3 separate regions of the Homo sapiens genome follow, and regions 2 and 3 are each linked to region 1. The links are contacts of gene promoters, found by promoter capture Hi-C in blood cells and fetal thymus (Javierre and others, 2016). All regions are on one chromosome and are shown on one strand. Each heading gives the region's core, a stretch centred on a gene start or on the middle of the fragment in contact. The rest is flanking DNA. Distances are from core to core; before and after follow the strand shown. Region 1 holds the start of SPIN4 (spindlin family member 4). Region 2 overlaps ARHGEF9 (Cdc42 guanine nucleotide exchange factor 9). Region 3 overlaps ARHGEF9 (Cdc42 guanine nucleotide exchange factor 9).

Evidence for each region. Contacts are between HindIII fragments. The CHiCAGO score rates a contact against its expected background, and 5 or more counts as called.
Region 2: a contact is called between a fragment that was not itself captured here and the fragment with the promoter of SPIN4 in region 1, in 1 of 17 cell types (monocytes). The highest score is 6.2, in monocytes.
Region 3: a fragment that was not itself captured here is called in contact with the fragment with the promoter of SPIN4 in region 1 in 1 of 17 cell types (M2 macrophages); the score reaches 6.1 in M2 macrophages.

What each region holds. Positions count from the first base shown.
Region 1 is chrX:63,349,342-63,353,857 of GRCh38, forward strand. It overlaps SPIN4 (spindlin family member 4), which reads right to left and starts at 1,991. Exons shown (of 1, transcript NM_001012968.3): 1 at 1-1,991. The coding sequence starts at 1,478. The coding sequence ends at 729. SPIN4-AS1 (SPIN4 antisense RNA 1) reads left to right here. Exons shown (of 3, transcript NR_046739.1): 2 at 299-393; 3 at 2,501-2,847. RefSeq lists enhancers at 1,180-1,309, 1,410-1,459, 1,730-1,779 and a silencer at 1,980-2,209. The HindIII fragment of the contact is 10,204 bases long and covers 1-3,130 here.
Region 2 is chrX:63,755,371-63,759,886 of GRCh38, forward strand. The region is part of intron 1 of ARHGEF9 (Cdc42 guanine nucleotide exchange factor 9); the gene reads right to left. Among named protein-coding and RNA genes, the nearest start is that of ARHGEF9, 28 kb to the right of the region's middle. The HindIII fragment of the contact is 3,289 bases long and covers 1-2,953 here.
Region 3 is chrX:63,686,773-63,691,288 of GRCh38, forward strand. The region is part of intron 4 of ARHGEF9 (Cdc42 guanine nucleotide exchange factor 9); the gene reads right to left. Among named protein-coding and RNA genes, the nearest start is that of ARHGEF9-IT1, 18 kb to the left of the region's middle. The HindIII fragment of the contact is 2,090 bases long and covers 1,164-3,253 here.

The DNA of each region.
Region 1 (4,516 bases), core at 741-3,240:
CCAACCTATATAAATAAAAGCACCAGTATGTATTACAGCAGTGTTATTTTGAAAAAAAATAAAAAAAGGAAATAAAAGACGATCAATAACGAAATGGTTGAATGCCTTTTTGGTACATCAACAAGTACTGTGTATTCAGCTGTTAGAGTAAGGGAGGGAGGGGGAGAGCAAGAGTGCAAGAGAGTAAGAGTGAGGGCCAGAGAGAGCCAGAGAGAGCAAGAAAGACTGAAGCTACTGATAAGAAGAGATATCATCTACATGTCAAGTGAGAAAAGCATGTGGCTTGCCATTTTTACAGAAACTACTAGAACATACTTTCTGCATGAAGATGGGGAAAATAGGTGGAAGGATGTACTTCGCATCCTCAACACTTGTTTTCTGGGAAGAAACAAGGTAAGGAAAGGAAGGGGTAAGGACGGGGTGTGGGTTTACACCATTAATTTTTCTTAATCTATTTTTGCATTGTTCCAATGGTTGCAAACACTTTTTAATTTTCTATTAGCACCCAATTTAACTGTTAAGTTACAGAACAAGGCAATATCAAAAGTAGCAAAGTACACTTGAGGCAAAATTGTGAAACTAGTCAAGGTAAGATTTGTTGGCACAATAAAATTTATCCACTTTCCTGAATTTCTGACACCTAAACTCTTCTCTGCGTTCACAACTACGAGAACACAAAATAATTCACATCTAACAGATCCACAACTTCTCTAAAGAGCACAAAGAATTTAAGGAGTTTTCACCAAACCATAGACATAAATGTGAATATCATCATCAAACTTAATGAAGTAAACAGATGGCTTCGCCACCACTTGATGTATAAAAATGCCAGTTCTCTTGGACCCGTCATCTTTGGCATGCTCCACCTGCTTGCCCACGAGACTGTCGACCACCTCTCCAGGCTCCTGTTCTGCTGTAGGGAAATAGTAGTTGGAATCTGGAATAATGCGTAAGTCACCATCTTTGTAGTCATCAAGCAGCGTGTACATATAGAGAACAGGATCTTTCTCGTAGGTGATGTAAAACCAAGTATCCATCACAGGAGCTCGCGCCAGGACCATACCCTTCCATTCATCCTTGGTACCATGTTCACCTTCAAACACATGCTCCACTGCCTTGCCAATCAGGGAATCTGCCAGTCGTGAATCGATACGAGGAGTTGGCACTCTCTCAGGAAGGATCTCTAGCGCTAAAACTCTCTTATCGCGGTGCAGTTCTAGTCCATACACACTATCTTTGCCATCATATTTAATGATGTAAAGAGTGGGCTTCACGGAAACCTGCTCGAGCACAGTACCCTTCCACTGCTCCACTGGCTCGTTGCCTTCCTTCCAGCCGTGTTGAATGCGGCAGCCCACGATGTTCCTACGAGTGAGGAAAGTGGGCTTGCGCCGTTGCTTCCTGTGGGTGTGCCTTTTCTTCATCAGGTATGCGGACACGCCATCTACCCCCATCGGAGGCACGGTTGGAGGAGACATAGCTCAGGGATTAAGAGGGCTTGGGGAAAGCTGCTGCCCTGGTCGATTAAACTGACAAAAAGTCAACACTATGCAATATGATATATATATTTTTTGCGATCTCAAAGACCTGGTCTGTGCTCCCTTCTCCAAGTGCAAGGCTCTCACCAAGGTTTTGGCAGAAACGCTCGAACTCTAACCGTGAGCACTGGGACAGCGTGTGCCTCTCCACAGTGCTTTCCTCTCTCGCCCTAGAAGGGTTACTGCAGCAGTGGCGGCTGACGTAGAGATGGCGGGCTCGCGAGTGCTGTTCGTGCCTTGCGTCCGCCCCAACCCCGACCCCAAGTCCCCGAATCGGCCACTTAGCTGTTGTCGATGCTGGTGCGGCTGCGGCACGGCGGCAGAGGAGACGACGGGGACGAAAGGCAAGGAGTAAGAGGGATGGCTGCAGCGGCAAAGGCGCAGGCGGCGGCAAGTCTCTGGGGAGTCCGCGCGGCCTGGGCTTCGCAGCGCTAGCTGGCTTGGCTTCACTCTGGCGACCGGGTCTTTGCGGCGCAGGGAACCCGCCCCCTCTGAGCCCGCCTGAGCCTTGGCCCCGCCCCCAGCCATCCCGCCTTCCGCTCTGCGGGCGGCAGCCGGGCTGGTCAGCGCGCGTGCCCGTGTTCAGTTTGTATTGACACACGCGCCCTCTCTTTCATTTCCTCCTCCGCCCCTCGACCGTTTCCCTCAAACGCCAGCCAGACAGGCCGACTCCCCTCCTCCTCCTTTCTGGCGGTCTGCTGCCCGCCAGCCTCCTACACAGTGGCTCCATCTGCTTTCTGTCTTCCAGGAATTCCTCACTTAAAAAAAAAAAAAATGTAAAACACACGCACACCCAGAAAGAGTTTGTGCATACAAATTATTTTCTTTCAGTTTAAGATATTTAAGATGAGAATAAAAACCCTGTGTACAATTTACAGACCACCATCTTAATCCAAAATCTGTTTTATATTTTCTACCTGATCATTTCTAGTAATTATTTTTATTTTTTTTTTTTTTGTCAGAATGTAAAGGTCATGTACTGACATTGTGGAGATCTTCTAAAATTCAGTGAAATAAAAGACGAAACTACCATTAATTTTACCATCCAGACTGCACCAAAATGTTAACAATACTGTTTTCTCTCCTATTAATAAACCTGTACTTATATTTTATAAAATTGGGAGCATATTTCATACTTTTATAACTTGTGTTTTTCATGTATATCATGAACATTTTCCAAGATTGTTAAATACTCTGAAAACATGATTTTTAATAGTAATATTAAATATTTGTAATATTCCTTTTGATAGTCCACTATTTATCCTACATGATCTATAACATAAGTATAAATAAAAACATTTTACCTTCATAAATGGATTTATTGTCTAAACCATTTTTTAAAAGAAGATTTAATGACATGGAGAGCTGCACATGAGATGAGTACAATGAAAAAGCAAAATATTGAAACAATATTGTGGTCTTAATTTTGTAGAGAGAGAAAGAAGGGATTTTTTGTGTATATATTTGCTGTTTTTCTGATTATAAAAGTGCTGCATGCTTATATCGAAAACCTGCAAGAAAAGAAAGTGTCCATAATTTCACTTACCTTAAGTCACAGAGCTGCTATGAGGATTAAATGAGAATGTCTGTAAAGCTTTTAACACTATATCCCACTTACAAGATGACATTAAAATCCAGAAGAGTCTAGGGTTCTCATTTTCATTCCTCTACTCTTCACTGGTGAAAAGAGAAAGCGTCATATAATCATGAGTAAAAAAGGCAATTAATTCACCTGGAAACAAAACCGGGGCAAAAGCTGCAAGGTGTCAATACTGGTTGCCTGAACATTTCATTACCTTCCAAGTCAGTGACAGAGAGACCTAGTCCTCATTCTGTTTAATAGCTGGTCACACAGAATGTGTAAGGATCCTCCAGTTCACCATGTTTCCCAGGCAAAGGACTTCAGAGATGGGATAATTCTTTAATGCCATATTACAAGATAGTAATTCCAAGGAAGAAGGTAAACTACATGTATGAACAGTTATTTCCAAACACTTAGAATGACATCGTGGTGTATATATATTCACACATATACACAACCTACACATTCATACTCAAAGTCAGAAGGTGAACGTATGTAAATGTTATGCCATTATGTTCCACAAATAATGTCTTCCAAATAATTCCCCAGACCAAGATACACCAAGCACTTTTTGCTCAGAAGAGCAGTTGACACATGAAAGAAGAAGATGACCCACAGGGCACACAAATGCAGGGAAAACAGTTTCCTCAGGCCTTTGGTTACATCCTTCAAGGGAATTCTTGCTTACAACCCCACAAAGTGGCCTGAAGAGACAAAAAAAAATTCGAATACCCTTTCTTCTCCAAAATTATGATTCTAATATTCAGACCATTCACTAACATATAGATTTAAAAGGCCTTATCATGCTGATATAATGTTCACTTTGTATGACTCCCACTGGACAATAAACTTATTCAAGAAGGGATTTTTATCTTGCATCCCAAATACCCTACACAGAATAGAGACTCAATAAACATTTGTTAAATGAATAAATAATTGCTTTCAGCTGCCCTGCCCCAATGCAAAGACATCTTCCACAGTGAAACAAGTAGCCTTACACAAGCTTTTGACGACTACAGTTCTGGCAACTCAGGCTCTCCCTCAGCAATTTTATCCTTTTAAAACACCTAAATCACTGACCCTGTGAATACATGTGCCCATAAGTCTGAAAATGCTTAGGAGAAAACATTAAAGCAAGTGGGGCGGGGGCAAGCTTTCATCAACCTACATGTGTGGATAACAATAAAACTTACCTCAAAGTGTAAGTGTGAGGATTAAATTAGATAAATACACACAAATCTCTCAGCACATGAACTGGTACATAGTAAGTACTCAGTTGTCTCCTAACTAGTCATCTCCTGAAAGAAGTTATTTTGTCTTATTACATCTTTTTACAAACCACCCAGCTCATACCCCACCTCTAAACCTTTCCTCTGTTTTACACTCAAGACCTCTT
Region 2 (4,516 bases), core at 59-2,558, 410 kb after region 1:
TGGGGAGCTTCTTGGGGGCGGATAGAGGGGGTATATAAGGAGATGGGGAGGAAAAGGACTGGGAAAGAGGGAGGGAAGGGACCCAATAGGATGCAAGGGGAGGAGATCACGTGAAGAGGGAGAAAAAGAAGAAAAGACGAGGAGGAAGGAGAAGAGAGGGAAGATAATGAAGAAAGAGAATTGTGGGGAAAGGCAGAAAAAAGGATGGTGAGGAGAAAGAAGGAATGGGGGAAAAACGGATAGGTAGCTGTGGAGAATGCATGTGCCTAGCAGCCACTTTGTTTGGAGCCTGGGCCAAGGAGGAAGCAAAGGTGCTTTTGGCCACTGCCTAAGAATTTACAGGCAACCCACAATTAGCTATAAAAAGCCAACAAACCAGTGTTGTGGACAGAATCACAGGGACACACGACAGAATTTCCAAAATCCAATTCTATTTGGCTTTCCCTGATACCACTGCCCTTACCTGGTCAGATTTCCTTTCTTGATTATAGATTCTTCAGACTAGGACAGTTAGCTTGCAATTTTCCAGCATTCTGGGTACTATGAAGGGAAGCCAGCATAGGGTTAAACATTCGCCATGGAAAATCCTCTACAGAACTTGCAATCTGCTTCTAATCATTGCCCTGCTCTGTGACCTGGTATCTAGAGCTAAGGAGGGAAAAGCCATGGAGTGGAGACCAGAAGGTTTCAAATTTACTCTCAGCCCTACCTCAAACTTGCTGTATGACTTTTGGGCAATTCCCTTTTCCTCTCAGGGGTCTGTCTTCTGTCTCCCTCCTGTCAATGAGGACTTAGACTTATCTGAGAATTCAGTTAAACCTCAGAACACTCACCTCAGAAAAAAACAATTTCAGTGGTTCCCTGGGCCTTCAAACCAAGGATTCCCTTATACAGGAGATCTCTCAGAGCCTTTTTGCTCTTATATTATAGGATTATATGACTGAACAGATAGGTATATACCTAAGAAAAATGAAAACATGCCAACACAAAAACTTATACATGAATGCTTATAACAGCATTATTCACAATAGCCAGAAGATGGAAACAATTCAAATGTCCAACAACTGATGAATGGGTAAACAAAATGTGGTATATACATACAATGAAGTATTATTTAACCATAAAAAGGAATGAACTACTGATACATGCTACAACATAGATGAGCTTTGAAAACATGCTAAGTGAAAGACGTGAGAAAAAGGCTTTTGTAAGATTCCATTTATAGAAAATGTTCATATAGTTAGCGTAAATACTGTTTCATGATGCTTTTGTTTCAGTTATATATAAATATAAATGTACTGGCCTGTAATGTGAAATGTGTTTCTTATAGCAAGTAATAGTCAAAACGGTTTGAAAACTACTCTTCTAGATTATGTTGAGACAGATACTGGTGATCAGGACAGTACCATAATATAAACAACTACAGTCTTTCTCCTAGTCTTTGAAAGTTCAGTCTTATCCTGTCTCTATTTCCTCATTATCTTTTGACCCCTCAACCCACTGCATCCTGGCTTTACCCTCATTGTCCTATAGAAAACTGAAACCTCTTGTGAATAGGAAAAAAAACAACCAACTTGTTACTAAATCTCATGGCCAACTTTCAATCTTTACCTTTCGTAACTTTTCTCCCATTTGACTCCACTGATGCCTTCCTCAATCCTGAAATGCTCCTTTTCCTTGGGAACACCATCCACATGACCTGTATGTTTATGCTGTCTTCACTTCCTGCATGGGTTCTTCTTCATCCAGTCATTAATGCCATGATTTCTGAGTTCTTCTGATTGCAGTCCCCTTTTCTTCTCATTCTGCATTTGCACTGAATGGGCTCATCTACTTCCAAGGCTTGAACTACCATCTACATTGCACATTGATGCACCTCCTTTCTACAAAATTACACCACCACTGGGAAACAAAACAGACATAGGACCTTGCTTGCACGTAAGCAGAGAGCTGCTGATGACTCCAAGGTAGCTCTCCTGGACCCCAGAATGAAAGTTCTACTGCTTTCTGGATATCTCCTCCTTAGTATCTCACAAGCATATCAAACTTAAAAAGTCCCAAATTGAAGTCATCTCCTCCCACTCTTGCTGGTTTCCTTCTTCCCCTGAGTCCTTTGTCTCCTGGGAATGGCAGTCACACACTGAGCTTGCCAGAAACCAAGAAAATATCTACAAGTTTTTTCTCTCCCTCACCTCACTGGTGGCCAACAAGTCTTTTAGTTCTGTTGATCCTCTTCCTCCTTAATCTCTCTCATTTGTCCCTTTCTCTCTTCCTGCTGTCACTACTTTTAATCAGTTCCTCATCATCTCTGATCCATCACAATTCATTACCAGTTATCTTATGCTGCTCTCCCTCCCCAATTAAGCCTCTACTCTTCTGCCCAAATTCTTTCCTCAAAAGCAGTTTTGCTCTTGTCAATCTTGGGTAGATACTCTGGATTGGTTTTTAAGGATCCACTCCTTCTAGCCTGCCTTCCTATATTGCTGAAAAGCTAAAAACCAAAAAAACTACAACAACAATAAACTGGCATTTCCAAGATTCCTTTGCAGCCAGCGTTCTGGATATGACATAGTGATGCCAATCATATGCACATGCACAGTATTTAGAAGGAGGTGGTTGGTGAGCCAGAAGTCATGTCTCTGTTGCTTCTGTTGGAAAGCACAATGGTGAAAGTGTTGGGGTTTTTTTGTGTGTGTTACCGTAGGTTCCAGTGTCTAGCCATTGGCTTTGTGCATTCTGAGAGCCAGAGAATGGGACTTTTTTTTTTTTTTTTTGTCACTGAGGATCTGGTAGGCATAGTGATACTCTAGCCAACAGATGGTTAGAGCTGTGGCAGCTTCCTCATTCCTAAATTGCAGACAAGGCAGCATGCTCCTAGAGCCCCTGACGCCTCATCTTCCTGCTTGTCAGAGAGAGCAGCTACCCTGACACTGTTCTTGGAGGCATAGCCTAAAGCTTGCCCCTCCAGCCCTCCCACCAATTTTGTAAGCACTTTATTTTCTATATTAAAACTCCTTCTGCTGAAAAGAACTACAGTGGTTTATTTTTGCAGCTGAAACCTGACTTATATAATGCCTCTGTTCAAAGGCCTTCAATAGCTCCTCGGCGCATTTAAGGCAAATTCTGTAGTGTGGCATAAAATGTCCTGCCAATCTGATGTCCTTCGGCCTCTGTATCCTCAGCTCTTACCAGTGCCCTCTCATTCTCTGTTCTCTAGCTACATAGAACCTACAGTAGTTCTCATAACTCATGAGGTTCTCTTGCCTCAGGGCCTATATAAACTGCTGCTTTATTTTTCCAGCTCCCCATTTCAAAGCTCAGCTGAGGTGCCACCACCTCCAGAAGGCTTTCTCTAATGTTCTCTTCCTCAACAATATTCTGAATGATAGTCCTCTCCCATAGGATCCTACGTTTAGCCCTCTTGAAACATTTATTAAACTGTATTGTATTTTTTTCTTGTTTGTATCCTTTACTGGACTGTGAAGCTAGGAGGGCAGAGACCACGACTGTCTTGTTCACTGCTTTCTCCCTTTGTGCCCAGCGCAGTGTCTGACACTTAGCAGGTGCTTCATAACAAACACCTATTGGATGCATGAATGTCTCCTTCATCCACTGGTCTCCACTCAAAGACTCATATCTTCCAACCACAGAAGGCAGGACCTGATGGAACCACAGAGAAAAATCTAAGCCCTTATATTCCAGGTTCACAGAGAAGGGAAGCAACTTGTCAAAGATTATACAGCTAATTGCTGGCAGAGTGGGAACCAAAGCCCTTGTATCTTAAGTCTCAAAAGTACTTTTGAGAGATTTCAGACCCTGGAACACGGTATTTGATACCAGCCCTGTCCATGTGTGGGTAGCTTTCTGAGTTATGTGACCAATCAACTTTGCTCACAATTTTTTTTAATGGAGTCCTCTACATTTGGAGTAGCAATACCCCTCCCGAGATCTATTCCTTCTTGCTGACAAGTCTCAAGGAATTAGATAATCTCTTGGTCTAGCACAACTCCAGTTCCATCCTGCCATCCCTTCTGCAACATCCCCACTAATTGGTTATCCGGTCTCAGCTCCAACACCTATAATGATGGGGCAGTTCCTCCCTCCCAAGACAGCCCCTTCATCTTTGGGACAATCTCAGATGGTAGAAAGTTCTTCCATCTCTTTGAGCCAGATGTTGTCACTACTTCTACCACAGCCAGGGCTGAGGAGCTAATCACTCCATGAGAGGGTCTGGGATAATAATGCCCTCAAATTCACACTAGTTCTCAGATCTGAAAGGCAGTTCAATAGATTATGATAATGATAGTTAACACTTACAAACTGCTTACTCTGTGTCAGGCACTGTTTGAAGCCCTGTACATACATAAACTCTTTTAATCCTCACAACAACTCTATGAGGTAGGTACGGTAGGTACTATTATTGTCCTTATTTTATAGATGAGGAAACTGAGGCAGAATGAAGTTAAATAACTTGCCTAAGGTCACATGGCTAGTAAGATATGGAGCGCAGATGTAA
Region 3 (4,516 bases), core at 959-3,458, 340 kb after region 1:
TTCCAGAACTCAATGACTGAAGTTGTGACAATCCCAGAGGCCACAGAGAACTGAAAAACTGCAAGCAAAAGGTAAAATAGCTCCTTCCCCAAGCTGCCAGGCACTGTGTAGAAAGGCACCCTCAAAATCAAGGTTCCTATAATACTGGAAAAAATAAAAGTGGACAGCTAGCTTCCCCACCATCTTAGATTCCTTTCCAGAAAAATTATTCCTGCCTCAACCTGTAAGAAGCCTCTTGAATGCCTGCAGAGTAAAAAATCCCAAAGGCAGCTAGAGTTAGAGGGTGGGGGTGGGGTTAGCAACACCCAGTGCATGAAACTCCAGCTTCCCTTCATCTGACCTCAAAAAAGACACCAAATCAGAAAGGCTGTTTAACAGCATCACGTTGCAGGAAGCACACTTCATCAGTCCTCTGGGAACAAACCTCCATCCAGCTTTCCCACAGAGCTGGGGTATCTTTGGGATTCCTCCCCATCCAGGATGAGTAGCACTCTGAAATTGAGAAAGACTATGTCAAATCTGGGTTCAGGGTGCCATCTAGTGTTGAAAAGGAGGCAGTGATCTCAGGCTAAGGGAACTAAATAGTCACTCTGCACAAAACCTCTAGACAGACATACTTCTGAAAGACCAAACCAAGCCAGACAGTGAAGACTGGAATAAAGAACTAATCCTTCAATGCAAATGCACAGACATATATCCATAGAAAGAGCAAACAGGAAACCATGACATTCCCAAATAGACAAAATAAGGAGCCAGTGACTGACCCTAATGAGATGATGTTGTGTGAGCTCTCAGATCAAGAATGCAGAATAGCAATTTTCAGGAAACTCAGAAAATGCCAATGTAACACAGAAAAGCAATTCAGAAATGTATTACAGAAATTTAACAATGAAATTGAAATTTTAAAAAATTAAACAGAAATCCTAGAGCTAAGAAATACAATAGTCAAACTGAAAAATACATGGGATGGTCTCAACAACAGAATTGATCAAGCAGAAGAAAGAACCGGTGAGCCCTAAGACTATTTGAAAATACACAATAAGAAGAGAAAAAATAATGAGAAAAATGAAGAACGCCAACAAGATCTAGGGGATAGCCTCAAAAGAGCAAGTCAAAGGGTCATTGGCTTTAAAGAGGATGTTGAGAAAGAACAAAAGGTAGAAAGCTTATTCAAAGTAATAATAACAGAGACTTTTCCAAACCTAGAGAAAGATATAAATATCCAGGTACAGGGTTAAAGACAACCAAACATGTTCAATCTAAATAAGATTACCCTAAGGCATATAATAATCAAACTCTCAAAGGTTAACAGACAAAGAGGGAAATCTTAAAAGCAGCAAGAGAAAAGAAGCAAATAACATATAAAGGAGTTTCAATTCCTGTGGTAACAGAGTTTTCAGTGTAAGTCCTACAGGGCAGGAGGGAGGGGGGCAACATATTCAAAGTACTGAATGAAAAAAACAAAACAACAACAACAAAAAAACCTCCCATACTGTGCCCAGCAGAGCCATCCTTCAAACATGAAGGAGAGATACAGACTTTCCCAGACAGAAGCTGAGGGAATTCATCAACAGAAGATTTGTCTTACATGAACTGCTGAAGCCAGTTGTTCAATCTTAAAAGAACACTAATATGTATCAAGAAAACACCTGAAGTTATAAAATAAACTGGTAAACGTATATAGACAAATTCAGAATAAACTATGCAGACAAATACTGAATTGTGGTGTGTAAACCGTTCACAACTTTAGTATGAAGACTGAAAAAAATCTATCAAAAATAATGACAATTTATTAAGGTCAGCCTGGCCAACATGGTGAAACTCCATCTGTACTAAAAAATACAAAAATTAGCTGAGTGTGATGGCACGTGCCTATAATCCCACCTACTCAGGAAGCTGAGATAGGAGAATCGCTTGAACTCGGGAGGCAGAGGTTGCAGTGAGCCGAGATCGTGCCACTGCACTCCAGCCTGGGAGACAGAGCAAGACTCCATCTCAAAAACAAAACAAAACAAAAAGGCAATTTATTAAGGGATAGGCAATATAAAAAGATGTAAACTGAGAAAACAAAAAGTTAAAATGGGGAAGTAATGGACTTAAATTTTAGAGATTTTAGTTTTTAATTTTTCTTTTGATCAAAGTTAAGTTGTCATCAGTTTATAATAAGATGTTCTAAGCCCCACAGTAACATCAAAGCAAAAACCTGTAAAAGATACACTAACAAAAGCAAATAATTAATACATGCCACCAGAGAAAAATCACTAAACAACAAAGGAAGATAGTAGTAAAATAATGGAAGACAGGAGTTACAAAACAATCAGAAAATAATAACAAAATGGCAGTAGTAAGTCCTTACCTTTCAAAAATAACATTGAATGTAAATGGGACTAAATTCTCCAATTAAAAGAGAGTGGCTGAATGGATTAAAAAAAACAGCATCCAACTATATGCTGCCTTCAAGAAGTTCACTTCTTTAAGTGAATTTCTAGTGAATAAGACACATAGAGACTAAAAGTGAAGGGATGGAAAAAGATACTGCGTACAAATAGAAACCACAAAAGAGCAGCAGTGGCTACACATATATCATACGAAACAGACTTCAGGTCAAAAACTGTAAGAAAAGACAAAGAATGTCATTATATAATAATAAATGGGTCAATTCAGCTACAGGATATAACAATTATAAATTCGCATGCACCCAACACTGGAGCACCCAAATATACACAACAAATATTAGTAGATTTAAACAGAGAGACAGACTACAACACCATAATAATAGGGAACTTCAACACTCACTTTCAGCAATGAACAGATTATCCAGACAAGATATCAACAAAGAAATACTGGATTTCAGTTGTACTATAGACCAAATGTACGTAACTGAAAATAACAGAACATATCATCCAACTGCTGGAGACTACACATTTTCCTCATCAGCATATAGAACATTCTTGAAAACAGGCCATATGTTAGGCCATAAACAAATCTCAACAAATTTTAAAAAGTCAAATTAATATCAAGTGTCTTTTCTGACCACAATGAAACAACACTAGAAATCAGTAAGAAGAGCACTTAAGAAACTGTACAAATACACCGAAATTAAATACATTGCTCCTGAATGATCAGTGGGTAAATAACAAAATTCTTTTAAAAAATAGAAATTTCTCAAAACAAATGAAAATGAAAACACAAGATACTAAAGCCTATGAAATAAAGCAAAAGCAGTACAAAGAGGAAAATTTATGGCAATAAAAGCTTTCATCAAAAAAGAAAAAGAAAGTCTTCAAATAAATAATCTACCAAGTCACTTCAAAGAATTAGGAAGGCAAGAACAAACCAAACCCAAAGCTAGTAGAAGGAAATAAATAACAAACACCAGAGCAGAAATAAATGAAATTAAGGCTGAAAAATACAAAAGATCAATGAAATGAAAAGTTGTTTTTTTTGAAAAGATACTCAAAATCAACAAATCTTTAGCTAGACTAAGAAAAAAAGAATACTCAAATAAATGAAATCAGAGGTGAAAAGGGAGAATATAACTGATACCACAAAAATACAAAGGATCATTACAGAGAATATGAACAACTACAGGCAAACAAATTGGAAAACCTAGAAGAAATGGATAAATTCCTGGATACATATGACGTACCAAGATTGAACCATGAATAAATAGAAAACCTGAACAAACCAATAACAAGTAACAAGATCAAAACAGTAATAAAAAGTGTCTCATCAAAGAAAAGCCAAGGACCTTACGGTTTCACTGCTGAATTCCACCAAACATTTAAAAAAGAACTGATAATAATTCTATGCAAATTATTTCAAAAAAGTAAAGAGGAGGAATACTTCAAACTCATTCTATGAGGCCAGCATTACCCTGGTACCCAAACCAGACAAAAACACATCAAAAAAAGAAAACTACAGGCCAATATTACTGGCAAACATAGATGCAAAAATTCCAAACAAAATACTAGCAAACTGAATTAAACAACACATTAAAAAGATCACTCACGATGATCAAGTGGGTCTCATCCCAGGGACAAAAGTTTGGTTCAACATATGCAAATAAATAAACGTGATACATTACATTAACAGAACCAAGGACAAAACCTGTATGATCACTTCAATAGATGCTGAAAAAGCATTTCATAAAATTCAAGATCCCTCCATGAGAAAAAGACAACAAACTGGGTACAGAAGGAACATGCATCAAAATAATAAAAGCCATATATCACAAACCCACAGCTATCATCATACTGAACAGGAAAAAAATCAAAAGCCTTTCCTCCAAGATCTAGACCAAGACAAGAATGCCCACTTTTACCACTTATGTTCAGTGTAGTACTGCATGTTCTAGCCAGAGCAATTTAGGCAAGAGAATGAAATAAAGGGTATCCATATTGAAAAGGAAGAAATCAAATTATCCTTGTTAGCAGATGATATAATCTTATATTTAGAAAAACCTAAAGACTACCTACACACACGAAATGCTGGAAATGATCAACAAATTCAGTAA